2 separate regions of the Homo sapiens genome follow, and region 1 is linked to region 2. The links are contacts of gene promoters, found by promoter capture Hi-C in blood cells and fetal thymus (Javierre and others, 2016). All regions are on one chromosome and are shown on one strand. The core of a region is centred on a gene start or on the middle of the fragment in contact, and the rest is flanking DNA. Distances in the headings are between cores, read along the strand shown.

What was found. The method cuts DNA at HindIII sites, captures the fragments that hold promoters and counts their contacts. A CHiCAGO score of 5 or more calls a contact.
Region 1: a fragment that was not itself captured here is called in contact with the fragment with the promoter of TRIM52 in region 2 in 2 of 17 cell types (naive B cells and total B cells); the score reaches 7.0 in naive B cells.

Annotation. Positions count from the first base shown.
Region 1 is chr5:180,782,572-180,787,179 of GRCh38, forward strand. MGAT1 (alpha-1,3-mannosyl-glycoprotein 2-beta-N-acetylglucosaminyltransferase) reads right to left here. Exons shown (of 2, transcript NM_002406.4): 2 at 2,209-4,608. Among named protein-coding and RNA genes, the nearest start is that of MGAT1, 18 kb to the right of the region's middle. RefSeq lists enhancers at 2,464-3,375, 3,376-4,286. The HindIII fragment of the contact is 1,243 bases long and covers 918-2,160 here.
Region 2 is chr5:181,257,632-181,262,815 of GRCh38, forward strand. It overlaps TRIM52 (tripartite motif containing 52), which reads right to left and starts at 3,512. Exons shown (of 2, transcript NM_001346048.2): 1 at 2,370-3,512. The coding sequence starts at 3,182. It overlaps TRIM52-AS1 (TRIM52 antisense RNA 1), which reads left to right and starts at 3,581. Exons shown (of 3, transcript NR_102762.1): 1 at 3,581-3,753. RefSeq lists enhancers at 3,213-3,262, 3,443-3,492 and silencers at 3,633-3,782, 3,893-4,142. The HindIII fragment of the contact is 14,499 bases long and covers 1-5,184 here.

The sequences.
Region 1 (4,608 bases), core at 289-2,788, 480 kb before region 2:
TGTCCAACTGATTTGAGCAATAAAGGTAGCTCAAGCTGGCACCAAGTACCCGTAGGAGATTTGCCAAAGGTCAGGGGTAGCTCCACTCAGAATCCCTTCATGGTTACCATGTAAACCAAACAGTATCTGAGACAGAGCTCAGTCAATTTAGAAGTTTATTTTGCCAATGTTAAGGACATGCACCCAGGACCCAAGTCTGTGCCTTTCTCCAAAGATGATTTTGAGGGCTTCAATATTTAAAGGAAAAAGGGCAGGTATTGCAGAAAGAGGAAGACATTTTTAAAAGGTGTGGGTAGATAAAAGGCAAGTGGTTGCCTTCTTTTGAGCCTTTGATCAGCCGTCCACATGTAAGGGAGGCAAAGGAATAGTCAGCTAGCTGGGGTGAATCTGCACTTTCACATAAGATAAAGTAGGGCAGAGGAAGCAATCACATATGCATTTGTCTCAGGTGAGCAAAGAAATGGCTGAGTTCTTTCCTTTGTCCCATCACTGCGAAGATAGACTATCAATTTACATTGTCAGGGTGGAATTCAACAGAACACTTTTAGGGTAAAGATCTTGCCCACAAGGGCAAATTGTGAGGGAGGCATGTAGCTTTTTTATTTGTGAATGGAAGGCAGGTTTGTGTGACACAGTTCCCAGCTTGATCTGTCCCTTCGGCTTAGTGATTTTGAGGTCCCAAGTTGTATTTTCTCTTCACAATATGTGTACGTATATTGGTTTATGTATTGGTTTTCAACCCAGGGTTCCTGGCTCATAATTCCCACAGCCCTTGTTACAGTCTTTTGTTACAGTGTTGGGTGAGTCAGGCCTCAGGGGCAGGACTCTGACCTTCCACTGCCCTGAGGCAGGACTCAAGGCCCTCCCATGAGAGGGTCCCATCCTATACCCTGGGGGAAGGAATGCTAAAGTCATGAAGCTTCCATAAAAAACCAAGGGGACTGGGCCGAACACGTGGAGGCCGACAGGAGGGTGAAGAACTCGTCCACATGCCGGGAGGGTGGGGCACCCCAGCTCCACGGCAACAGAAGCTCCTGTGCTTCCAGGCCTCACCCTATGTACCTCTTCGTCTGGCTAATTATCCATATCCTTTAAAATATCCTTCTTAGTAAACTGATTCTCTGTGAGCAACTCCCCCAGATTAATCAAACTCAAAGAGGGGGTTGTGGGAACCCCAACTTGAACCCAGTTGGTCAGAAGTTCTGGAGGCCCCAACATTCGATTGGTGGGGTGGGGCAAGGATGAGTCTTGGGGATGGAGCCCTCAACCTGTGGGATCTGGCACTATCTCCAGGTAGACAGGGTTGGAACTGATTGGAGGACACCTGGCTGACGTCCACCGCTTGGGAGTGGGGAGAGGTCCCCACACGTTTGGTCACAGAAGTCTTCTTCTGTGTAGATGATTGTTGCAGTGTGAGAGCGGAGGGAAAACATGGTTTCAGGAGAGTCTTCCCTCACACTATGTGATTGGAGCAAAAGGACAAGAAAGATGAACTGAAGGACAAAGGAGAATTTAGGGAGAATCAGGGGCATCGGTTCAGCTGAGGGAGGGGCGTTGGAACCACAGCTGCATGCTGTCTAACTGGGGTGGAGAACTGCTAGGGCTTGGCCTGGAGCCAGGCGGGCATCAGGGCAGGCTCCAATTCAAGGGAGCAATATGACAAGGACAGGGAAGTCACACTTGATATTTCAGGTGAGGCCTCACCCAAGATTTTGATTTTTTTTTTTTGAGAGGAGTCTCGCACTGTCTCCCAGGCTGGAGTGCAGCGGTGTGATCTCGGCTCACTGCAAGCTCCGCCTCCCGGGTTCACCCATTCTCCTGCCTCAGCCCCCCGAGTAGCTGGGACTACAGGCGCCCTTCACCACGACCAGCTAATTTTTTGTATTTTTAGTAGAGACGGGGTTTCACCGTGTTAGCCAGGATGGTCTCGATCTCCTGACCTCGTGATCCACCCACCTCAGCCTCCCAAAGTGCTGGGATTACAGGCGAGAGCCACCGCACCCGGCCAGATTTTGATTTTTAAAAACCCAGGTATGAGGCCATCAGGCTCTGTTCTGCAGTTTCAGAACCAACTGGCTTGATTCATTCATAAGGAGGCCGAGGACTCCCAGCTGTCAGTAGAGGGCAGCCGTGCCCAATGAAGACCAAGTTCAGGTCAGAAGCTTGCTCAGCAAGCCAAGAACCAAAGATAGTTAATCTGGGCAGGGCGGTTATGTATGAATTTTATTTTCCTTTTATTTTTCAATGTTTTTAGGTAGTTACACGATAAGCACATATTACTTATATACGAAAAAAGTTATTTAAAAAACAATATTCATTCTTTACCTTTCTATCAAGTGGTACAGAAAATTATACGGTATATATTTGCCGTGTGGCAAAATATTCCTCGTTGGATCATGTCAGTGGAAAGAGTATGGTTCTTCTTTGTATTAGTCTTTCAACTTCCCTGTGAGTTTGAATATTTTCATAATAAAAACTTGAAAAACAGAATATAAAATTGAAAAAAAGTTTTGGAAGGAAAAAATATTCCCATCCTTTAATTCAAGAACATCTACGTAAATAATAGAACCAGTCTCCTAGATGACACTGCTCCCCACCCTTGGATGCTGATGAGTAAATGTTTTAAAATTCTATTCTCAAAATATTTGTTCAAACATTCCATTCTGGTCACATAAAATCTTCCACCGTTTCAAGGACAGAACACAGTATCCGAGAGTTCTGGTTTCTACTGTTGCTCAGCAAACTCCCGCAGAACTCAGCAGCTTAAAATACCCGTTTCACATTGCCCACCATTTGTGAGTCAGAAATTCAGGCAGCCCTCGGCTGGGCAGTAGTTGCTTAGGGCATCCCATGTGGTTGTGTTAGATGCTGGCCAGGGATGTCCTCACGGCCCCTGTGGGTGACGGTGGCCATGGGTGACGGTGGCCGTGGGCCACTCCCCAGAACCCTCCAGCAAGGGGCTCAGGGTAGTCAGATGTCTTCCATGAACTCCCTGGAGCTCAAGGCCCCAAGTGTGCCTGTTCTAGCAAGAACCAGGAAGAGGCTGTCTCCCTGCCATGACCTAATCTAGCAGCCACACAGCCCCATTCCGCTGCCAGCGTCCTGCAGGCCCCTCCTCAGGGAAGGCCCTCGGTGAAGAGTGAGGCCTGATCGCCGCTCACCTACTCCTGATCCTGAAAGGTTTTGCCCTTTTCCTAAATAGAAACTCTGAAAAGTAATCAAACAGTATTTCCAAAGGAGGCTTTTGGCAGGCTTGCCTCATTGCCCTTGCAGGGAAGGCTGCCTGTCTCTAGCCATCTTCCTCTTCTTACAGCTGTGCTGAGACGTTTTTGGCTGGGGCAGGGCTGCTGCACTGAGGGTGCATCCCACCTCCTGCAGGGAAGGCAGCCAGACCACATTCCAGTGAGTGGAACGTGAGGGAAGGCTGTCTGCCCACTGCTTTTGTTCCATAAAGAATGAGGCTTGCCCTCCCTTCCCCTCTCCTGCTTCCTGGTAGCTGAACCAGGGCAGCATTTGCTGTGAGCTGGGAGCCATGTGTTGAAGACGGCGGAACAACAAAAGTGAAGACAAAAAAGAAAACTGCATCACTGGCATGTGCCCTTGTCAGTCAGCACTTCCGGGGCTGTGTGTGGCCTTCAGGAATTTCAGTTTTCATGCATGACCCTGAGAAGACTCAGCCCCCTGCCACAGTAGGACAGGTTTCTCAAACAACCCACTAGGGTTAGGGGCCCGCAGGTTTCATTCTGCCCCTCTCCAGGTCAGGGTTCCTAATGCACTCCCCCCAAAGCTCCCCATCACCCTGCCCTCTCCAAATCCTCGTCACTGTCACAAGCTTGGTCTTCCAGGCACCGTGTATGGCCGTGGTCCCTGTAGTCGCCCATACAATCACTCCCTTCTTAGTAACAGGAATCTTAATTTGATTCAGCTTCAGAAATACTTTTTCCAGCCTCTTTTGCTGACAGGGGTGCCTGTGTGATCCAGTTCTACCCAGGGAATTGTGACCCAGCGCTCTGTGAGCTTCCAAGAGAGGAGGAGGCAGCTGCCATCCACCCTTTACCTTCTTCCTTCCTCCTTCTTCCTAAAACGTGTGCTGGCTGGAGCTCCCGCAGCCAAGGAATGAGACCTGACCTCGTGCTAAGAAGAGTGAGACTGAGACCTGAGAAGGAGCCTGGGCCCTGACGGTGGAGGAACCCCCACACCAGCCTGCACCATCGACCTCTCATTTCCGTCCGGCGCTGGGATCCAGGCTTCCTGCTCTGCAACTGAATCCATTCTGACACACTGTCTTACAGTTCTGGTATAAAGGGTCAGACTTCAAGTTAGCCAAGGGAGGCAGTGGGGGAAAGTAACAGCCTTGGCACTACCCGGCCCCCTTTCTATCAACTGCCCCCGCTCTGCCCGCTCCAGACACATGTGGAGGGGGATTAAGTGTCGAGGGAGCCAAGGTGAACAGCAGGAAAAGGAAAGCAGTGGAGACAGAGATTTCCACCAGGCTTTACTCACAATGCAGCCATACGGATTAATCCCACAGCCACCACAGAAGGTTGTGTTACCCCCGCCTCACAGGAAGAGGCTCTGGCAGGAAGAACAGCTGGACCCGAGTCAGAC
Region 2 (5,184 bases), core at 2,262-4,761:
TCTAAATCATGCGACTATAATTTACATGTTTACCAATGGAAGGAAGTGACAATGAACTGCCTAAAGAATGAAAGAGACACCCAGGCATGGTGGCTCACATCTGTAATCCCAGCACTTTGGGAGGCCGAGGCGGGGGGATCAGGAGGTCAAGAGATTGAGACCATCCTGGCCAACATGGTGAAACCCCGTCTACACTAAAAATGCAAAAATTAGCTGGGCATGGTGGTGCGCACCTGTATTCCCAGCTACTTGGGAGGCTGAGGCAGGAAAATCGCTTGAACTCGGGAGGCGTAGGTTGCAGTGAGCCGAGATCGCACCACTGCACTCTAGCCTGATGACAGAGCGAGACTCCAGCTCAAATAAATAAGTAAATAAATAAATAAATAAAAATAAAAAAAGATTTGTGTCTTAACTGTGCACTTAACAATATTTACTATAAAATGGGGGAAGGGGATGATGATAAAAGTTAGCTGAGGAAGGCTGGGCACAGTGGCTCATGCCTGTAATCCCAGCACTTTGGGAGGCCCAGGTGGTGGATCTCCTGAGGTCAGGAGTTCAAGACCAGCCTGGCCAACATGGTGAAACCCCATCTCTACTAAAAATGCAAAATTAGCTGGGCATGGTGGCATGTGCCTGTAATCGCAACTACTAGGGGTGCTGAGGCAGGAGGATCGCTTGAACCCGGGAAACGGAGGTTGCAGTGAGCCGAGATCATGCCATTGCACTTCTGCCTGGGCAACAGAGCAAGATACCGTCTCAAAAAAAAAAGTTAGAAGAGAAATGGAAGGTTCTCTCTTTTCCTCAGCTTCAGTATACTAAAACCCAGAAGCATAGGACATAAGTTTTTTCCATGGGATACTTTAGTTATCACCTTGGGTGAAAACATGGTACTAGGATTTGTCCTTCAAGTCAGGTTAATGTAACAGAGGTAGCAGTGACTTATGGTTAGATTTGTGCCTTAACTGTGCACTTCCCAATATTTGCTATAAAATGGGGGCAGGGGGGTGATAATAATATCTAATACATGAAGCCTGTAGGACAGTGCTCTGTGTTTGTGTTTTGACTGCAACTCAAAGAAAGCAATATATTTTTAGATGAAGTATATACATGTATATATATATAACTTAAAAGTTTCATAAAGCAGTACTTACCCTTACTATGTTCCATGTGTTCTAATATTTTCTCTTACTTCATTTTGAGATAATGCTAGGCATGACCCATTTATTTTAAGACACACTAATTGGTCAAAAAACAATTTGAAAACCACTGCTATAGGAGAACACGAGGAAATATATTTTATAAACTGTAAAGCACTACTAAGACGTGAGCAGCGGCTGCTGCATATCCAGGTCAACCTTTATGGGCCTGAAGACAACCTCTCCTTCGTTTGGGCACTGCTAGGAGTCAAATCTACCTAGACTTTTGGTAAGGAAGATGGTACTCATGCTCATTGTCATTGAGACAATTATCTAATGCTTAGAAGTCAAGACTAGAAAGCAAGGCATTAACCATATCAGCACCCAAACAAGGGAAGACAAGTTACAAGAAAGCCAAATAAAACAGCAAACATTTGTTTAGTGCTTTATGGTTAACATATATGATCTCTTTTAATCCTTACAATCCTAGGGAAAAAGTGAAGCTCAAGGAGGTTGACACCTGCCCAAGACTAGACAGTAAGTGGCAGAGCCAGGTCATCTGATCCTAAATCCCGCACTCCTTCCACTATGATAAAATACCAGGAAAGAAAAGTGATCAGGATATGAGGCACATTCTGATCCATCAAAGATGCTTATATGCTTTGCCTTTCTCTAGAAGGAAAACGGACCCCACTGAAGGTAGAGATGCAATCCCAGACTTTCAGAGGGGGGGTGTGGCCAATTGCTATCAGTAGTTTAGGACTCACATCTGGCATTTCTGTCTACCAATACATCTATTTTGACACTGCTTGTGCTGAGGTCCCAAATGTCTATTATCTCCAAGTACTGTGGCTTTCTATTCCTATCTGTACCTGTCCCAGGGAATTGGTCAAGGACTCACATTAGGGAGAAATGAAGTACTGGGTATCTGTTACTCACGTCCCTTACACTTAGGTAGACTGCCAGTATTAGCAGTAGTGGTCCGCTTCCAGTGACCGTCATATTATCTGTTCAGCTTCCTCTGGGGAAGCCAATCTGCCCCAATCTTCATGGTTTTGTGTCTCCTTTTTTACCCATATGACCATCTCTCTCCACCGTGTCTCCCTCATCAAATAAAGAGAAGTTTAGCAACTAAGTACCTGAGGAGGTGGGAAAGGAATGCTACTCATTCCTCAGCTCTCCTAGTTACCTTTCCACTCCCTTCATCCCCCCACATTCCCTCATTTCTCTCACCTGGTACTCCTGCACCACCTCCTCCAAAGGCAGCACGCTGTGCTGTTTGTGGCTCCTGGATTCTCGGCACACCACACAGATGGCCTCTTTGTCCACCTCACAGAAGAGTTTCAGGGCTTCCTGGTGTTTAAAGCACATGCCCTGATCATTACTCCGGTTTCCCCGATAAGGAGTGGGGCACATCTGGCGAATTATCTGGACCATGTTGGCCAGCTGCAAGTTGGGACGAAAGCTGCGACGTGTAAAGCTCTTTCGGCACTGGGGGCAGGTGAACTGCCCTGGAAGGGGCAAGGAAGGAGGCGGGTGGATGTCAGGATACAGCTCTTCATCTTCGTCCTCATCGTATGCTTCCAGTATTTCTTCTTCTCGGTAGACATCAATTCTCAGGTCAGGTCTCAAGCCTCCTAGGTAATAGTCCTGATCTTCCTCTTCTTCTTCTTCCTCCTCGTCCCACATATAGTCTACGTTGTCCCAATTAGTTATACCACTGTCACCGAGCCAGAGTTCATCGTCATCTTGGTCTTGGAACAACTCTTCGTCAGCATTCCCCCGATACAACACCTCTCGAATGGAGCCGTCCCATCCATCCATGGCCCCCACCGCTTCCTCGTCCTCCTCCTCCTCCCATTCATCTTCCTCCTCGTTCTGGTCCTCCTCGTCCTCCTTACTCCACAGCTGGGTCACACACCCTCGGCAGAAGTTGTGCCCACAGCTGATGGACACGGGGTCCTTGAAGTAATCCAAGCAGATGGCACACACCGCTTCCTCCTGAAGGGTCTGCATGGGGCTGGGAGTAGTGGCATAACCAGCCATCTTAATGCCCGCCGGCAGGTGTAGATACGTCAGCTTGGAGCTGAGGAGCGGGGACGCGCCTGCAGGCCTGCCTCCAAACTACTCTGGTGACCCGAGGCTGTCCTCAACCTTGCTCTTCTTCCTCGGGGCCGCAGGGGAGCTTTGACCCCCTCTCTCAGGGTGCGAACGCCCAGATCCAGACTCACAGCCTCTCTCTGGGATCGGTGGGGACAGAGCAGGCTGCAGCCCCCAGCTGCTCGGTCCTGTCACGTCTCTCGCTACCCTCAGGGTGTGCCCTACACTGCGGCGTCCGCCTCAGATGCAGCCGCTGGCTACCCTGCCCGAGGCGACGCAAAATGACGTCTCGCTCCTGCACACGCTCTGGAGAGACGCTCTAGGCCGGCGGAGGACCACGTCTCTATGGTGTGCCGGGGGCCGCGCGGGCCGGGAGTTGGGTGGGCTGGGGGACAGGCGCGCCCGCGCCGCCCGCTCCAGCTGGGCTAGTGCTGCACATTCCGGCCAGCCCCTCCTCAAGACCCCATTCCCAAGCCCCTTCTCAGCTCCCTCGGGCCGGCAGAGCGGCTCTGATCAGGTCAGCGGCGGACGCCGGGAAGAGGCCCGGCTTGGGAGAGGTGGTTTGGTGGGTTGGCTGGTTCTAGATGGTGGGGGGGTCAACACTTGAGGGGGACTGGGTCTCCGAGCCGTTGTCCAGCCTGAGCCGGAGCCCCAGGAAGGTTAGAGGGAAGGGGGATAAATCTCTCCGGAAGCCCCGCCCGGGCCGGGGCCGAGTTGGTCCGCGGCGGTGGGGAAGCCTGGGACACCACCCTGGTGCTGTCGCCCGTCCCGCCGTCCGCGCTTGGGGTGCCTTTGTGGGGATCCGGGCGCCGCACAGCTGGGAGGGCCTGCCGCCCGGGAGGCTCGGATCCGGGGCGCCCAGTGCCCCCCGCTGCCTTCCGTGAGCCGTCGGGCCCCAGCTCCACGTAGGCCTCAGACCCAGCCCTGTTTCTGCTTGCGGGGCCGCGGCTGCGCAGTATTGCGGCGTCTGCCAGCAAAGCTGCGCCCCGGTCGTGGGTCCCCTGAGGGGGCCGGGGCTCAAGTTCCCTTCGGTGCTGCCGCCTGCGTCGGGCCAGGGTTCCGAGTTCCAGCCCTGAGCTCTGTGAGCTCGGCCGGGAGGGGGCTGGATTTGGGACCACACTTCCTCACCGCCGTGGTTTAGACTTAGTTTGAGAGCGGCTGGCCCCTCCTTCCTGTCCCGGTGTCCTCCGCTGTCTGTTATGCCCTTCACTCCTCCCTGGGGAGGGAGGGCTGGGGGCGCTGTCTGGGTCTGTTTTCCACCCCAGCGGGGCCCTAGGGCAGTGTCATTTAGACTCCACTCTGTCACCTTTCCTGGAGAGGGGACCTGATCCAGGGCTGAGAGGTTTTTTTTTTTTTTTTTTTTTTTGAGATGGAGTCTGGCTGTTGCCCAGGATGCAGTGCAGTGGCGCGATCTCGGCTCACTGCAAGCTCCGCCTCCCAGGTTCACGCCACTCTCCTGCCTCAGCCTCCCGAGTAGCTGGGACTACAGGCGCCCGCCACCACGCCCGGCTAATTTTTTTTTTTTTGTATTTTTAGTAGAAACGGGGTTTCACCCTGTTAGCCAGGATGGTCTCGATTTCCTGACCTCGTGATCCGCCCACCTCGGCCTCCCAAAGTGCGGGCTGAGAGATCTTACAGTGGGAGGGGGAATCAGGCCCTGGGGAAAGGCTTCTCAGGGGTTGTCTCCTTCTGTCTTCTGTCTCTGCAGGTAGGGATAGAACCAGGTCAGGCCTGGATTTGTAGTCCCAGAGAACAGAGGATGGAGATGGGGGCTGGACGCAGCTCAGAGGGGCTGGTGCTCATGGGCTCTGTGTATGCCTTCTCCTGTGGCCTGGTTCTGTGTACAGATGTTCTACCCCAGTGCTGAGGGCCAAGACACCCTCTTGGCCTTGGTGCTGGGGGCATCCTGGGGCAAGGAGTGTAGGCAGAACTCCTCAACATTGGAGAT